2 separate regions of the Homo sapiens genome follow, and region 2 is linked to region 1. The links are contacts of gene promoters, found by promoter capture Hi-C in human tissues and cell types (Jung and others, 2019). All regions are on one chromosome and are shown on one strand. The core of a region is centred on a gene start or on the middle of the fragment in contact, and the rest is flanking DNA. Distances in the headings are between cores, read along the strand shown. Region 1 holds the start of CALML5 (calmodulin like 5). Region 2 has its middle 21 kb from the start of AKR1E2.

Evidence for each region. Contacts are between HindIII fragments. The study calls those that stand out against the background at their distance.
Region 2: a fragment that was not itself captured here is called in contact with the fragment with the promoter of CALML5 in region 1 in 1 of the 25 tissues and cell types used here (liver).

The regions. Positions count from the first base shown.
Region 1 is chr10:5,496,393-5,503,369 of GRCh38, reverse strand. CALML5 (calmodulin like 5) reads left to right here and starts at 3,800. Exons shown (of 1, transcript NM_017422.5): 1 at 3,800-4,673. The coding sequence starts at 3,932. The coding sequence ends at 4,372. The HindIII fragment of the contact is 7,245 bases long and covers 1,787-6,977 here.
Region 2 is chr10:4,801,400-4,808,376 of GRCh38, reverse strand. No RefSeq gene overlaps it. Among named protein-coding and RNA genes, the nearest start is that of AKR1E2, 21 kb to the left of the region's middle. The HindIII fragment of the contact is 6,184 bases long and covers 1-5,584 here.

The DNA of each region.
Region 1 (6,977 bases), core at 2,551-5,050:
TGCACACTTGCACACACATGCAAACTTGTGCTCACATGCACACACAAACTCAAACCCACACACACATGCACACACAAATAGACATATACATACACACACAAAAACACATGTGCACACAGCTAATGCACAAGGCAGTCCCATGACTGATGATAACTCTCCCCTTCCTGCCTCTGGGGACCTGTCCAGCCACCTTGGAGAGGTTTTCATCCTTTCTATAGCAAGTTGCAGACGTCTTCAGTCCTCCTCAATGAAGGAGACTCCCTTTCTCCTCCAGGGTGGCAGGGAGAGTTGGCGTCTCCATGAGGGGCTCAGCTGACAGGCGCGGGAGAGGGGAGGAGAGCCCACCTCCAGCACTCAATCACAAAGCTGCCATCTCCCTGCAAACCCCCCCACTTCCCTCTTCTGTGCTGATCACGACCTTCTCTTTCTCACCTGGTCCCTGGATCCTTCTCTGCAAACTTCAGCCTGTCCCTCTGCTGCAGTTCTTCCCAGCCTTCTGCACCTCCCTTAGGCCCCTCGCACACAGCTCCGGGGGCAGCCACCACATTAGGGCTAGCTGGGGTATCTTCCTTCCTCTCACTTCCCTGCTGGGTTTGCTTCGCACATGGCCCCTGGGTCGGGGGAGCTCAGCTGTGGGATGTGGAGCCAGCGGCTGGGCACCCCAGCTTCAGGCTCCTTATGGAGTGGAGGACGGGTGATGCCCTTGGCCCCTGCATCACACAGGGATACACGCAGAAGGCGTCGCCTGAGAATGCACCTTAGCTAGAAAGAAGGGTTTCTCCCTCCTCAAAGCCAGGCTCTGCACCCAACTGCCGTGCTAAACCAGCCAAGGCAGAGGGGCTTGACCAAGCTTGCCTAGATTTGACAACAAATGCCATCTTGTCCCTCTTCGGGAGCCCCCATTTGGGCTGTGCCAGGCCGTCTGTGGTGCGGGTCACTCAGGCATGGCCGTCCTTGGTGTCCCTAGTGCTGAACCCAGAGGAGGGGAGTGGAAACTTCACCCACAGAGGCTGAGCCAAGGCAGCTGACGGCTTGCATACTTGCAAGCCACTTGTGGTGGGAGGCTGAGGGGAGGATGAAAAAAACAATCTCAGTGCTTGTACATGCCCTGAAAAGAGAATGTGTTAGGGAGGAAATGACCCCGGATGGGGAAACACGCAGCGGGAAGTCAGGGGACTTTCCCTATGGACACGGCCTCTCTCCATCTAGAAAACGCACATCGTGAGAATAGTGACCATCATCCTGTCTCGTGATGAGACAGCCTGAGGCTTTTTCTAAATAGGTGCTTCTGCTCTGCATGGAACTGCCTCTGTCTGGAGCTGACACTGAAAAGTCAGCTAATGCTCTGAGCCTTGGCATGTTGGACTTAACTAAACCTCGAGGTGGACGCATTTAATTTTTCCGTTCAATCAAAAGAGGTATAATCACAAAATTGTGAGATTCCCCTTCAAGTAGATGTTTTCCCGAGTGTTGGTTTACATCAAACATGAATCAGCTCGTTATTAACATGAGGTTTATCATAGAATAATAACACCTGCTGCTGGCTCTGTACTTAATATTCTGATCCTACACGCTCCGATCAGATATGGTGGGTGCATCATCCTAGTTTATAGATGTGGATATTGAGACACACGTTTCCACATCACTGACAAAACTGGAACCGGGAGCTCAAGTCTCCTAATATTGTTTGCAAAGTAGTATTTAATACCTGGGGAAAATGACATGAAATAATTATTAAGCCTTTGGATTTTAATCACAGGTCCCATCAACAAGATCAGAAGGAAAGGAAATTTCAACTATAGATTTAAATCTTCAGGTATTCTTTAAGGAAATAAAACAAGGAGCTGGGCTGAATCCAGCTATTCAGAGTCCCGCCCTCCCTGGGCCCCTCACCAGGCAGGATGCTTCTCTGTTCTCATCTCCTGGCCAGAACCACGTTCTCCACCCCAAACCGGTTGTCAATTTCATTGAGAAATTGGTTGCTCAATATTTATTGAGGCCTCTGTATTATTCCACCACTGAGGTGAGCTAGAAAATCTTCAAGCTATCTTTATAAAATGAGTTAGACAACTGGGACACTGCTCTCTGCATCTCTCTGTCTATGCTGGGTCCCCCTGAACTCCGGTGGGGTGACCCCCTTCCTTCCCTCTCCCTGCTGACCATGACCTTCCCTTTTGTACCTGGTCCACGGAGCTCCCTCTCTGCAGACCTCAGCCTCTCCCTCTGCTGTGGTGCTTCCGAGCCCTTTGCACCTCCCTCTGGCCCCTCACATGCAGCTCAGGGAGCAGCTGCCACACTAGGGCTGGCTGGGGCATCTTCCCTCCTCTCACTGCTCTGCCTGGTTTGCCCCTTGTGTGGTCCTGGGGGACTGAGCTGTGGGTCATGGAGTGCGTGGTTGGGCACCCCAGCCTCCGGCTTCCCTTGGAGAATGTGTGCAGCACCAAGGGGCTGGGAGGTGTTTGTCTGGCTGCACTTTAGGGAAGGAGAGGGCACTTGGTCTATTTGATGGGCTGAACAGGAGGGAGGTGGAATGTATAAACTTTCCCAGGGGAATAAAGGAGTTTGTTCCCTGTGTACGGGCAGGGGCTGGGGAGAAGAATGGGAATCTATGGAGATCAGAGGGGACTTGCTTGGGAAAGGCATTTTGGGGACTCCAAGGCAAATGTCCCCTCACAACTGTAGATCACATCAGTGGAAGGACTTGGGGATGGTCCCCCGAAAGCTTAGCTGTTGCTCTAAAAGTTGGTCAAGGCAAGTGGCCCTGGGGGTTTCCTTCCAGAGAACAGATCAGATTGAGGACCCCAGTAGGCTCCCAGATGGGTCTCTGTGCTTAGGGCTGATGCTTAGTAAAACCACAAGGAGGGCCAAGTTTGATGGCAGCCACCTGTTCTGCATCCTCCTGCACCTCTGCCTGCACCTTTGGGGTATGCTGGGCACTGAGGTCCCCCGTGTCTCGCTGCAGCAAAACTCCAGCTGTAACTGTTTGACGCCCTGTGAATGGAACGCCTGCCACTGAGCTCCCAGGGTGTCTGCACAGGGAACCTTGGACTTGGCGATGGAATTGAATTGTAGGAATCCCTGAGCTAGAAGGGAGTATTCTGGGGAGACAAAAAGTCTTTCCCTCTCCTCTGAAACTGCACGTCACATGTTCACTTGATAAACACCATCTCAGCACCAGCTATGGCTCTGAAGGCAGCCCTGGTCCCTTGCTTCCTTGAAGTTATAGGCAGTGAGCCCCATCCTCTGTCTCTAGACCCTGGCCTGGGAATCTCATGATACCCACAGTTGTGCCCTGGCAGAATCAACACTACCACCCACTTCCCTTCCACCAGCCCCAGCCTCAGGGCAAGAGCTAGGCAGTAGCACTGGAGAGAGGGGTACGGAAACACCAAACACTGGGGCCTGCTGTGCCCTTGAGGGAGCCCTCTTCAAGCCACCTCCCCCTCCAGTCTCAGTCTTTGTGAAGTTGCAGAAGCTGTCTTGAACCCCTTGGCTTGGTCAGGATCTCCGAGAATCAGCTGCAGGGGAAACTATCCCTTGGGCAGAATGTTCCTGGAGGGAGGTGGTTGCTATCAAGGCCAGGCGGGGTTGGCAGGCTAGCCATCCGATACCCCGACCCCATGGCAGTTCCCACCTGGCACCTGACAGCTCTCCCAACTCCCATTCCTGCATTTCCTGTCTGCAGCTGATCTGGCCCTCCCTGGGAGGAGGCTCTCACCCCAGGGCATTTGGAGGGTGGGGAGCCTCCCTCCTCCCTTTGTTCCGATTGCAGAAAAGGAGGGGGTTCCCATGCCAAGGCAGAACTGTCTGGGACAGACGCTGCCCGGATCCCTGCGGCTGCCTGCACTCTGGACCACGAGCTCTGAGAGCAGCAGGTTGAGGGCCGGTGGGCAGCAGCTCGGAGGCTCCGCGAGGTGCAGGAGACGCAGGCATGGCCGGTGAGCTGACTCCTGAGGAGGAGGCCCAGTACAAAAAGGCTTTCTCCGCGGTTGACACGGATGGAAACGGCACCATCAATGCCCAGGAGCTGGGCGCGGCGCTGAAGGCCACGGGCAAGAACCTCTCGGAGGCCCAGCTAAGGAAACTCATCTCCGAGGTTGACAGCGACGGCGACGGCGAAATCAGCTTCCAGGAGTTCCTGACGGCGGCGAAGAAGGCCAGGGCCGGCCTGGAGGACCTGCAGGTCGCCTTCCGCGCCTTCGACCAGGATGGCGACGGCCACATCACCGTGGACGAGCTCAGGCGGGCCATGGCGGGGCTGGGGCAGCCGCTGCCGCAGGAGGAGCTGGACGCCATGATCCGCGAGGCCGACGTGGACCAGGACGGGCGGGTGAACTACGAGGAGTTCGCGAGGATGCTCGCCCAGGAGTGAGGCTCCCCGCCTGTGTCCCCCTGGCTGCGCTCTGAGCCTTCAGGGCCACCGCCCGCTGCTGCTTTTGTGCTGGGACTCTCCGGGGAAACCTGGTCGGTGGATGGGAAACTGCCTCCCCCTGGGAGGAAGGCTTTGCGCTCCGGGGCCTGGATGCGGCGCCCTCGGGCCGCCTGCGAGCCCCTCTCTGCCTCCAGACCTTGGGCAGAAGGAGGCCTCCTTGGGCCTGGTCCCCCTTTGCCCTGCAGTGGAATGAGGGCCCCTCAGCCCCGCATTGATCTAAATAAAGGACTGCCGAGTTCCATGTGTGCTTGGTGTTTGTGGGGCGGCTGCCTCCGAGGGCCCCCACCTGCTTCCAGGGTTCCTTCCAGCCCACCCCTCTCACCTGCGGTGGCAGAACTGCCTGGAGCAGGCCCCAGGGGCAGCTCCTGCCTCCCCTGACGCGGAGCAGAGGGCAGGTGGGCAGAGGATGTGTGAGGATGGTGCTGGGCGGTGTCTGTGGCTCCAGGTTCTGCCTGAGCTGCTGGTGAGGACCTGGGCACGTGTCCCGCACAAACAGGAGCGGGCGCCTCGCATGGACAGACGGAGCCCAGCTGCCAGCCTCTGCACGCAGCCTGCCTCTCTTCGGCTGCAAATAATATACGTGTACGTCTGTGTGTGCATCTGTGTGTGTGTCTGTGTGTCTGTATGCGTGTCTCTGTATGTGTGCATCTGTGTGTAAGTCTCTGTATGTTTGTGTGTCTGTGTGTCCTTGTGTGCATCTGCATGTGTATGTGTGTATCTGTGTGTGTGTCTGAGTGTGTCTCTGTGTCTATGTGTCTGTGTGTGTCCATTTGTGTGTGTGTCTTATCTGTGTGTCTGTGTCTGTGTGTGGCTTTGTGTGTGTATCTGTGTGTGTGTGTCTCTGTGTCTATGTGTCTGTGTGTGTTTATCTGTGTGTGTCTGTGTCTGTGTGTGTGTCTGTGTATGTGTTTGTGTGTGTCTGTGTGCCTATCTGTGTGTGTGTGTCTCTGTGTCTATGTGTCTGTGTGTGTTTATCTGTGTGTGTCTGTGTGTGTCTGTGTATGTGTTTGTGTGTGTCTGTGTGCCTATCTGTGTGTCTGTGTGTCTGTGTGTTGTGTGTGTCTGTGTCTGTATATGTGTTTATGTCTGTGCATATGTGTCTGTGTCTGTGTATGTGTATATGTGTGTCTGTGTGTGGCTCTGTGTGTGTATCTGTGTGTCTAGGTATGTCTGTGTGTTCGTGTATGTGCCTGTGTATGTATCTGTGTGTATCTGTGTGTCTGTATATCTGTGTCTGTGTGTGTGTGTCTAGGTATGTCTTTGTCTGTGTGTCTATCTATCCGTGTGTCTGTGTGTCTATGTGTGTGTGTGTCTGTCTGTGTCTGTGTCTGTGTATCTGTGTGTCTGTCTGTGTCTATCTGTGGGTCTGCGTGAATGTCTGTGTCCATGTGTGTCTGTATGTGTCTGTGTGTCTGTGTGTCTTTGTGTGTGTCTGTGTGTGTGTCACTGTCTATGTGTGTGTGTCTGTCTGTATCCGTGAGTCTGTGTGTGTCTGTGTGTGCATGTATGTGTCTCTGTGTCTGTGTGTGTGTGTCTTTGTGTCTATGTGTCCGTGAGTCTGTGTGTGTCTGTGTGTGCATCTGTGCGTCTGTGTCTGTGTGTGTCTCTGTGTGTGTGTGTGTGTGCGTCTGTGTGGTTAGGGTTGGGGGAGGTGGGGAAAGGGCAGAGCAAGGGGGAGAAGGACGGGGCTGAGCAGGCAGGGCCCTCCACCCTGACAGGGCACAGCCCTGTATGGACTTGGGTTGTGTTGGTGCCGTGAGGTTTAGAAACGAGACCCAGGCTCGCTCATCACAGCCTGGCGTTCCCAGGGCTCCCTTTGTCCTGGGTCTCAGATGGTCGGACCCAGGCACCTTGCTTGGCAGATGTGGAAACTGAAGCCCCAGGTGGGTACAGGAGCAGCCCAGGCCAACTTATGGTAGCATTGGGTGAAATCGGGCTTTGGGGAGGTGGCGGCCCTGGCCTTGGAGTCAGGATTCGTCTCTTTCCCACCTGCCGTGCTCTCGGGCAGACCTGCGGGTGGGGGGGTGGGGCACACCTGTGGAGGAGTGAGGTGCGCCTGTCCACTTTATCTCGGCTTCAGCACAAAGCCTGGGGGGCCAGGGGTAGCCCGGGGCACTGAGGCGGGGCCTGGGCGTTTTCAGGAGTCACCATGATCTCTTGCGGTCACTCATTGCGACCTGTTCCTTCTTGCCCGGTGCTCAGAGCCTGGCCAGTGCCCTCCAGGCCCTTCCAGCCTCAGGGCTGGGGTCAGACCTTCCCTCCTCTGCCTGGGCTGTGGGCAGGGAGCACCTGGGGCTAGGGAGAGGAGAGGTGGACACCCCAGCCTCCTCCCTCAGGGCTCTGAACAGGAAGGGCTGCAGAGCGGGTGGAAGAGAGAAGATAAGGAGGTGAGAGGGTAACAGAGCAGAGGCAGCCTGAGACCTGCCTGCTCACCTGACTGAGCAGGAGGCCTGCGGCAAAGTCTATGCCCATCCTGGCTCTGCCCGGAGGTCCTCCAGGAAAGCCCCATCCTCTTAGGCACGCGGATCACAGAGGTCTGATTTCT
Region 2 (6,977 bases), core at 1,243-3,742, 690 kb after region 1:
GCAGAAGACAATGGCACTGGATGAGAAAGGATGTGAATTATTCTAAAAATGTTTGCAAAGCGAAACCAGCAGCATGTAAAAATGGCATCACGTCATCACCATGTGTGGTTTATTCTGAAAATGAAAGGGTGGTTTAATATTCAAAAATTAATCAATGCTAATAAACCATATTAACAGACTAAAGAAGGAAAAGCATATGATCATCTTTTGAGATGCAAATAAAACCCTGAAATAATTCAATGTTTATTCATTCAATACAATAAAAAGTCCTCAACTAAAAAAAAAAACCCACAAAATACCTACAAATGAAGTCATTTATTAGTAAAAGATTGAATGCTTTCTTTCTAAAATCAGGAACAAGAAAAGGATGTCCCCTGTTACTATTTTTATTGGTCGTTGTAGGTAGCTCAATAAGGAACAAGAAAAAAGAAATGAAAGCACATAGATTGTAAAAAAAAAAAAAACAAAACAAAACAAAAAAAAACTGTTTCTATTTACAGATAGTGTAATTGTGTAAGAAAATACAAATGAATCCATAGGAGGCTACTAGAACTGAAACATGATATTAGCAAAACAATGTTTAAAAACCAGGCCGGGGCCCGGGCATGGTGGCTCATGCCTGTAATCCCAGCACTTTGGGAGGCCGAGGTGGGTGGATCACGAGGTCACTAGATTGAGACCAGCCTGACCAAGATGGTGAAACCCCGTCTCTACTAAAAATAGAAAAATTAGCTGGGCATGGTGGCACGCGCCTGTAATCTCAGCTACTCAGGAGGCTGAGGCAGGAGAATTGCTTGAACCTGGGAAGCGGAGGTTGCAGTGAGCCGAGATCGCGCCACTGCACTCCGGCCTGGTGATGGAGTGAGACTCCGTCTCAAAAAAAAAAAAAAGAAAAAAAAAATCAGGCCGGGTGCGGTGGCTAATATGTGTAATCCCAGCACTTTGGGAGGTGGAGGGAGGAGGATCCCTTGAAGCCAGGAGTTTCAGATGAACCTGCCCAACATAGCAAGACCCTGTGTCTACGAAAAAAGAAAATTAGCTGGGCATGTTAGTTTGTGCCTGTGATCCCAGCTATGAGGTGGGAGGATTGCTTGAGCCTCCATGTTTGAGGCTGCAGTGAGCTATGATTGTGCCACTGCACTCCAGCCTAGGTGATGGAGTGAGACCCCCCCATCTCTAATAAATAAATAAATAAATAAATAAATAAATATCAGTTGCATGTTAATGTGCTAGCAATGAACAATTTGAAATTGAAATTTCAAGACTGCCATTTTAATAGCACCAAAAACCTAAAATAATTATGATGTATAAATGTAACAAACTCTGTGAATGACCTGTATGTCAAAAAATTTAAAAAAAAGTATGAAAGAAACATTGATTAAAGACCACCTAAAAAGACATGAAGATGTTCTCTAGTCATGATCTGGAAGACTCAAGTGATATTGTCATTTCTCCCCAAATTAATTTATAGAATTAATGCAATTTGAATCAACATGACACGTGATTTTTAAAATAAGAGTTGACACAGTGCTTCTAAAATTTAGTAAAAATTCAAAAGAATAACCCAAACCACACTGAAAAAGGGAGAACATAATTGGAGGGCTCACGCTACCTGGCTCAAGGCTCACTGTAAAGCTGCAGTAGTCAAGTCAGTGTGGCATTAGCAGAAGGATAGACACCTGAATGAATGAAACTGAAAAGAGTCCAGAAATAGACTTGCTAAATATTGTCAATTGATTTTCTACAAAGCTTTGCAAAGGCAATTCAATTGAGAAAGGAAAGTCTTTGTAGTAATCGATGCTGGGATATTCGTATGCATAAAAATTGCACTTTGACCCATATCTTGCACTGTATAGAAAAATTAACTCAAAATAGATTATAGACTTAAATATTAAAACATATAAAGTTTGTTTTTAAAATTGCTTTAAGTTCCAGGATACATGTGCAGAACATGCAGGTTTGTTACATAGGTACACGTGTGCCATGGTGGTTTGCTGTACCTATTGACTTGTCCTGTATGTTTCCTCCCCTTGCTCCCCGTCCCCCAACAGGCCCTGGTGTGTGTTGTTCCCCTCCCTGTGTCCATGTGTTCTCATTGTTCGACTCGTACTTATGAGTGAGAACATGCAGTGTTTGGTTTTCTGTTCCTGTGTTAGTTTGCTGAGAATGATGGCTTCCAGGTTTATCCATGTCCCTACAAAGGACATGATCTCATTCCTTTTTGTGGCTGAATAGTATTCCATGGTGTATATGTGCCACATTTTCTTTATCCAGTCTATCACTGATGGGCATTCGGGTTGGTTCCAAGTCTTTGCTATTGTGAATAGTGCTGCAGTAAATATACATGTGCGTGTGTCTTTATAGTAGAATGATTTATATTCCTTTGGGTATATACCCAGGAATGGGATTGGTGGGTCAAATGATAATTCTGGTTCTAGATCCTTGAGGAATCACCACACTGTTTTCCAAAATTGTTAAACTAATTTACATTCCCACCAACAGTTTAAAAGCCTTCCTATTCCTCCACAGCCTTGCCGGCATCTATTGTTTCTTGACTTTTTAATAATCGCCATTCTGACTGGCGTGAGATGGTATATCATTGTGGTTTTGACATATAAAATTTCTAGAAGTAAACTTGATGACCGTAAGTTCAGCAAAGAGTTCTTAGATATAAGAATAAAAACACTGTCCTTGAAAGAAAAGGTCAAATATAATTAATCAAAATTAAGAAATCCTGCCTTTTGAAAGACCCTGTTAAGAAAATGTAAAGACAAGCCAAACACTATGAGAAAATACTAGCAAAACATATATTTAATCAATAAGTAACATTCAAAATATATAATAAACTTTGAAAATTCAATAGTGAAGAAAGAGAGCAATAAAAATTGGGCAAAATATTTGATAAGACATTTCACCAAGATATATGAATAGAAAATAAACGTGAAAAGATGCTGAATATTCTTAATTATTACAGGAATTCAAATTAAACCACAATAAGATACTACTACACCTCTATTAGAATAATCAAAATAAAAAAGCACTGGCTACATAAGTGTCAGCAAAGATGCTGACCAAACAGAACTCTCCTCTATTGCTGGTAGAAATGCCAATGGTATAGTCACTTTGGAAAAAAACATTTAAAGTGGCTTTGTTTGTAATCCTCCCTGGAAACTGGAAACATGAAGAGACCTTTCTACCATATTCACACATTTACCCACTTCCAATCTTTATTTTACTAGGAATCTTTTAATGATAAACATATTCCAAATAAGGACCAATAAGGATTTTGAATATTAAAAAGTAGAGGTTTTTAAATTCTGAGGATTAGTGATAATGTACATGTTGGCACATATGTATTTTATTTTTACCTGTATACACTTTCTTATTCTTCTGCAAATCAAAGTATACATTAACCCTGAGACCCCAGCTCCTTCATTTCATCCTCACGTGATAAACTCTGGGAAAACTTTAAAACACATTTACAAAGGACATGATTGCAACTTTTGCATGCTCTTTCAGCAGAGCTAAATTCAGGATATAATTATTTTCTTTAAAAATTCGGTTGACTCAACATATTTTCTAAAGAGGAAATTCCAAGGCATTGAAAAACACATCTGTGTTATACAGAAAACATTTTCTAAGCAGGAAAAGTCTTTCTGACTATGCAAAATATCATCAGATTTTCAATTGCATGTTATCTCTATCCAAAGACTCCTTTTCCTTGAGTCAGTATGGTTTAGAAACATGGGCAAGCAAGTCATGGTAATGTCAGAAGCTTAGCCAAACTACTATGAAAAACAGATACTGTATTAAGGGATTTTCTTGGGACAAAACAGCAGCTTTTTAAGTCAGCTCTGCATCTCTGGTTTGCACGGTTAGGCTTGATAATGGCACGCGTCTCAAAAGCCCGAGATGAGCGATGCCTTCGCTGCTCCTCATAGACGTACTACCAACCACTGGTAATTATGTCTTTAATCTTTTGAAGTAAAATGTTGTTGATTCTTTTCAGCTTGTATTTTTCTCTACATCTCATTAAAAGCCTACAATGAGTAAAAGTAATAGATGAAAAATTGATGTGGATGATGGAATCTAGAAATGAGACTTGAGAGCCTGATGCATCACCTGTCCATCGCTGGTTTTCAACACATTTCTTCTGCCCCTCATGGAAGGAGGTGGGACCCACACTTCCAGCCCTTTGGAGCCCCTGGGGAAACTCTGAGATATTCCAGTCCCCACCTCTGTGTGTTCTGATGTCACAGGTCCACTCCACAGGAGGACTGGAACACAGAGGTCTGACACAACAGCCAAATCTAAGCTGCACAACTCTATACCTCTAACAAGCAGTTTAGAAAATATGCTGATATTATCGTTTTTATAAAGAAAACCATTTCAAAATTCTGCATGTTTCAAGAAGTTGGAGATAATTTCCTTTATTTTGAGGAAGACAATACTGAACTATGGGAAGATGGACAAGGTTAGTTCCAGCACAGAGAGTCAAGCTCTCGACAGACATTGGCCTGGACACACAGAAGGACAGGGTTCAATACTCTCTACCAAGCAAGAAAATCCTTCTGTTTCCAGGCTACTGGGAAAGCTAGTTCAGAAAAGGTGGGCTCCATATACTCTCATTCCTTTCTGCACCCCTAAAATCCTGAGACAAAGACATATTCCTAAACTAGGCAAATGTTCAAGCAGTCATTGTAGATTCTGAAACCAAAGGGAAGTGTGATTTGCCTCTTGTTGTATTTATTTGTTGTGTTGTTTTTGTTTATTGTTACCCTTCCAAGTCATAATAAGTAACATTTGAGAAGCTGCACTAAGGTGTCAAATGTCGCTCTTGATTACAGGTCAAGTACAATTTCGACAAATATTATTTTAATTGAGTGATTTCTTAACAACGCAGTGTCCTCATTCTGGTAGATGGGCCAAAGAGGCTTAGCTTTATTGCTTTGTTAAAAGTCAGTCACTCTGTGATGAAAGATGCTATTTTGCACGGGCTACTCTATAGATCTACATGAGAGACCTCCTTGAGCTGTGGCTACTTTTCTGCAGGGTTAGGTAGGGATGTGCTCTCCATGGTTCCTGCCAGCAGGAATCCCTCCCTTCCCCTTCCTGGTGCTCCTCCTCCACAAGTACACAGTCCACAGACCTTGAACTTAGGTAGTGAGAGTAAGAAAGGAAGGGAAAAGAAAAAAAGAGGTAAAAATAAACATCTATAAGTTCCATATACACTGCTGTGAGCGAATGTGTGTGCTTTAGCAGGAGAAAAATATTTTAGTATTGAACAAGCCAACTCAACCCGGACTTTTCCTGCAGAATCCTCAAATAATTAAGCATCCAATAGAAAAAATTAAGCCAGTATGTGACATCATCTGGCCTAGTTTCAAGAACAACTCTACATTAAACATTCTTCACTCTTTCACCTGATGGGCAGGTTGAAGTTTGGCATTGCCTTATACCCCATCCCTTGCTGAACACTGGAAAGGAAGTCACCCCTATGATTAGTGAACGTGTGTCTACTTGTCTGGTCTTCTTCTCGTTCAACAACAACATAAACTACAAAAGCCTGGATTTTTTCTAGTGCTAGGAATTTGGATCATTTAAAACATCTGATCAAATTCAGGTAAAATAAAACTAGTGCAGAAATTACCTATGAAAGAAAAATTGAATAAGAATAAAAGATCAGTGTGTTGGTTGCTTTCCCATCAAACTTGTACAAGGATAACATAGGCTCAGATATGTAAACATCTAAAAATTAAGAAACATGTGACATGAAATGTACACAAAATTTAAAACATGAAACTATAGCAAACTGGCTATGTACTGTTGTGTATTTGCTTAGAAACAGAATATTTCAAGAATTGAATTTAACAATGCATGAACTTATTTACAATTAAAAACAACTTTATAAGGCATATTTCTCAATTTTAATACCCAATCCAACAGCCCAATAAAAGTGGAGAAGCCCTTAACACTTCTTGTATCTTTAAAAGACTAACATTTTCTTTAAGACTTACAACTAAATCTTTAAATAAGAATTAGCTATTTTAACATTAGAAGATAACAATTTTTTAAAGGACTGCATTGTTTTTGCTCAGAGAGTTGCATAGAAAAGGACCTTATCCTCCCCTCTTTTTCTGCTACATACACACACACACACACACACACACACACACATATATACACATCCCCCTCACAAATCAAGTCTTTTCATTTAAAACAAATATTTTGGATGAGGTAATCCTAAGAGTGTCTGAAAGACAACTGTCTCTTTTTTGGTGGGGGAAAGAGTGGAATTGGAGAGAAATCATAAAAAACACTGATGTAGATAATTAGTTGAAGAAATAATATTCATGTTTTTAATAAAATTTTTAAAATTCATCTAAAGCGGTTACTTTATTCATTTGTTTTTACATTAATTCATCTAACAACTATTAATTAAAACCACTAGGAAGTGGAAATTAAAATACTTAAGCAAGTCTTTTTGGTTGCAATTAACAAAACCCCTCTGAGCTGGCAGAATGCAGCACCAAGGGCTGTGGTACAGATCTGAGGCACCTAAGGGAAGGCAGAGGGGCAGCAGGGCCTCCCAGGGAACCATGCCACAGGCTCGCTGTGACCCAAGGTGACAAACCTCTCATCTCTGTGTCTCTCTTCTGCTTTGTTCTTTTCTCTCCTTGCAAACAAACATGTTCTGATTTTGGGTGTGCATGAGTCAAAACAACCCAAACTCTCCTCAGCCCTGCCTGCAGGACACCAGTTAAGCGGCTTACAGACACTCGTTAGAGTTTGAAATCCAAATCCACATTCCAGGAAGAGAGCATCCTGTTGGCCTTGCCCTGCTCTCATGACATCTCAGGTTCATCAGTTATACCTAGAATGTTTCTCAGGAAGGGGTTTGGGCTTGGAGAGTGGATCCAGGAGTTGTGAAATCAGAACAGAGCTTTCAATGCAAGGGTGCCCAACACCCCCGCTTC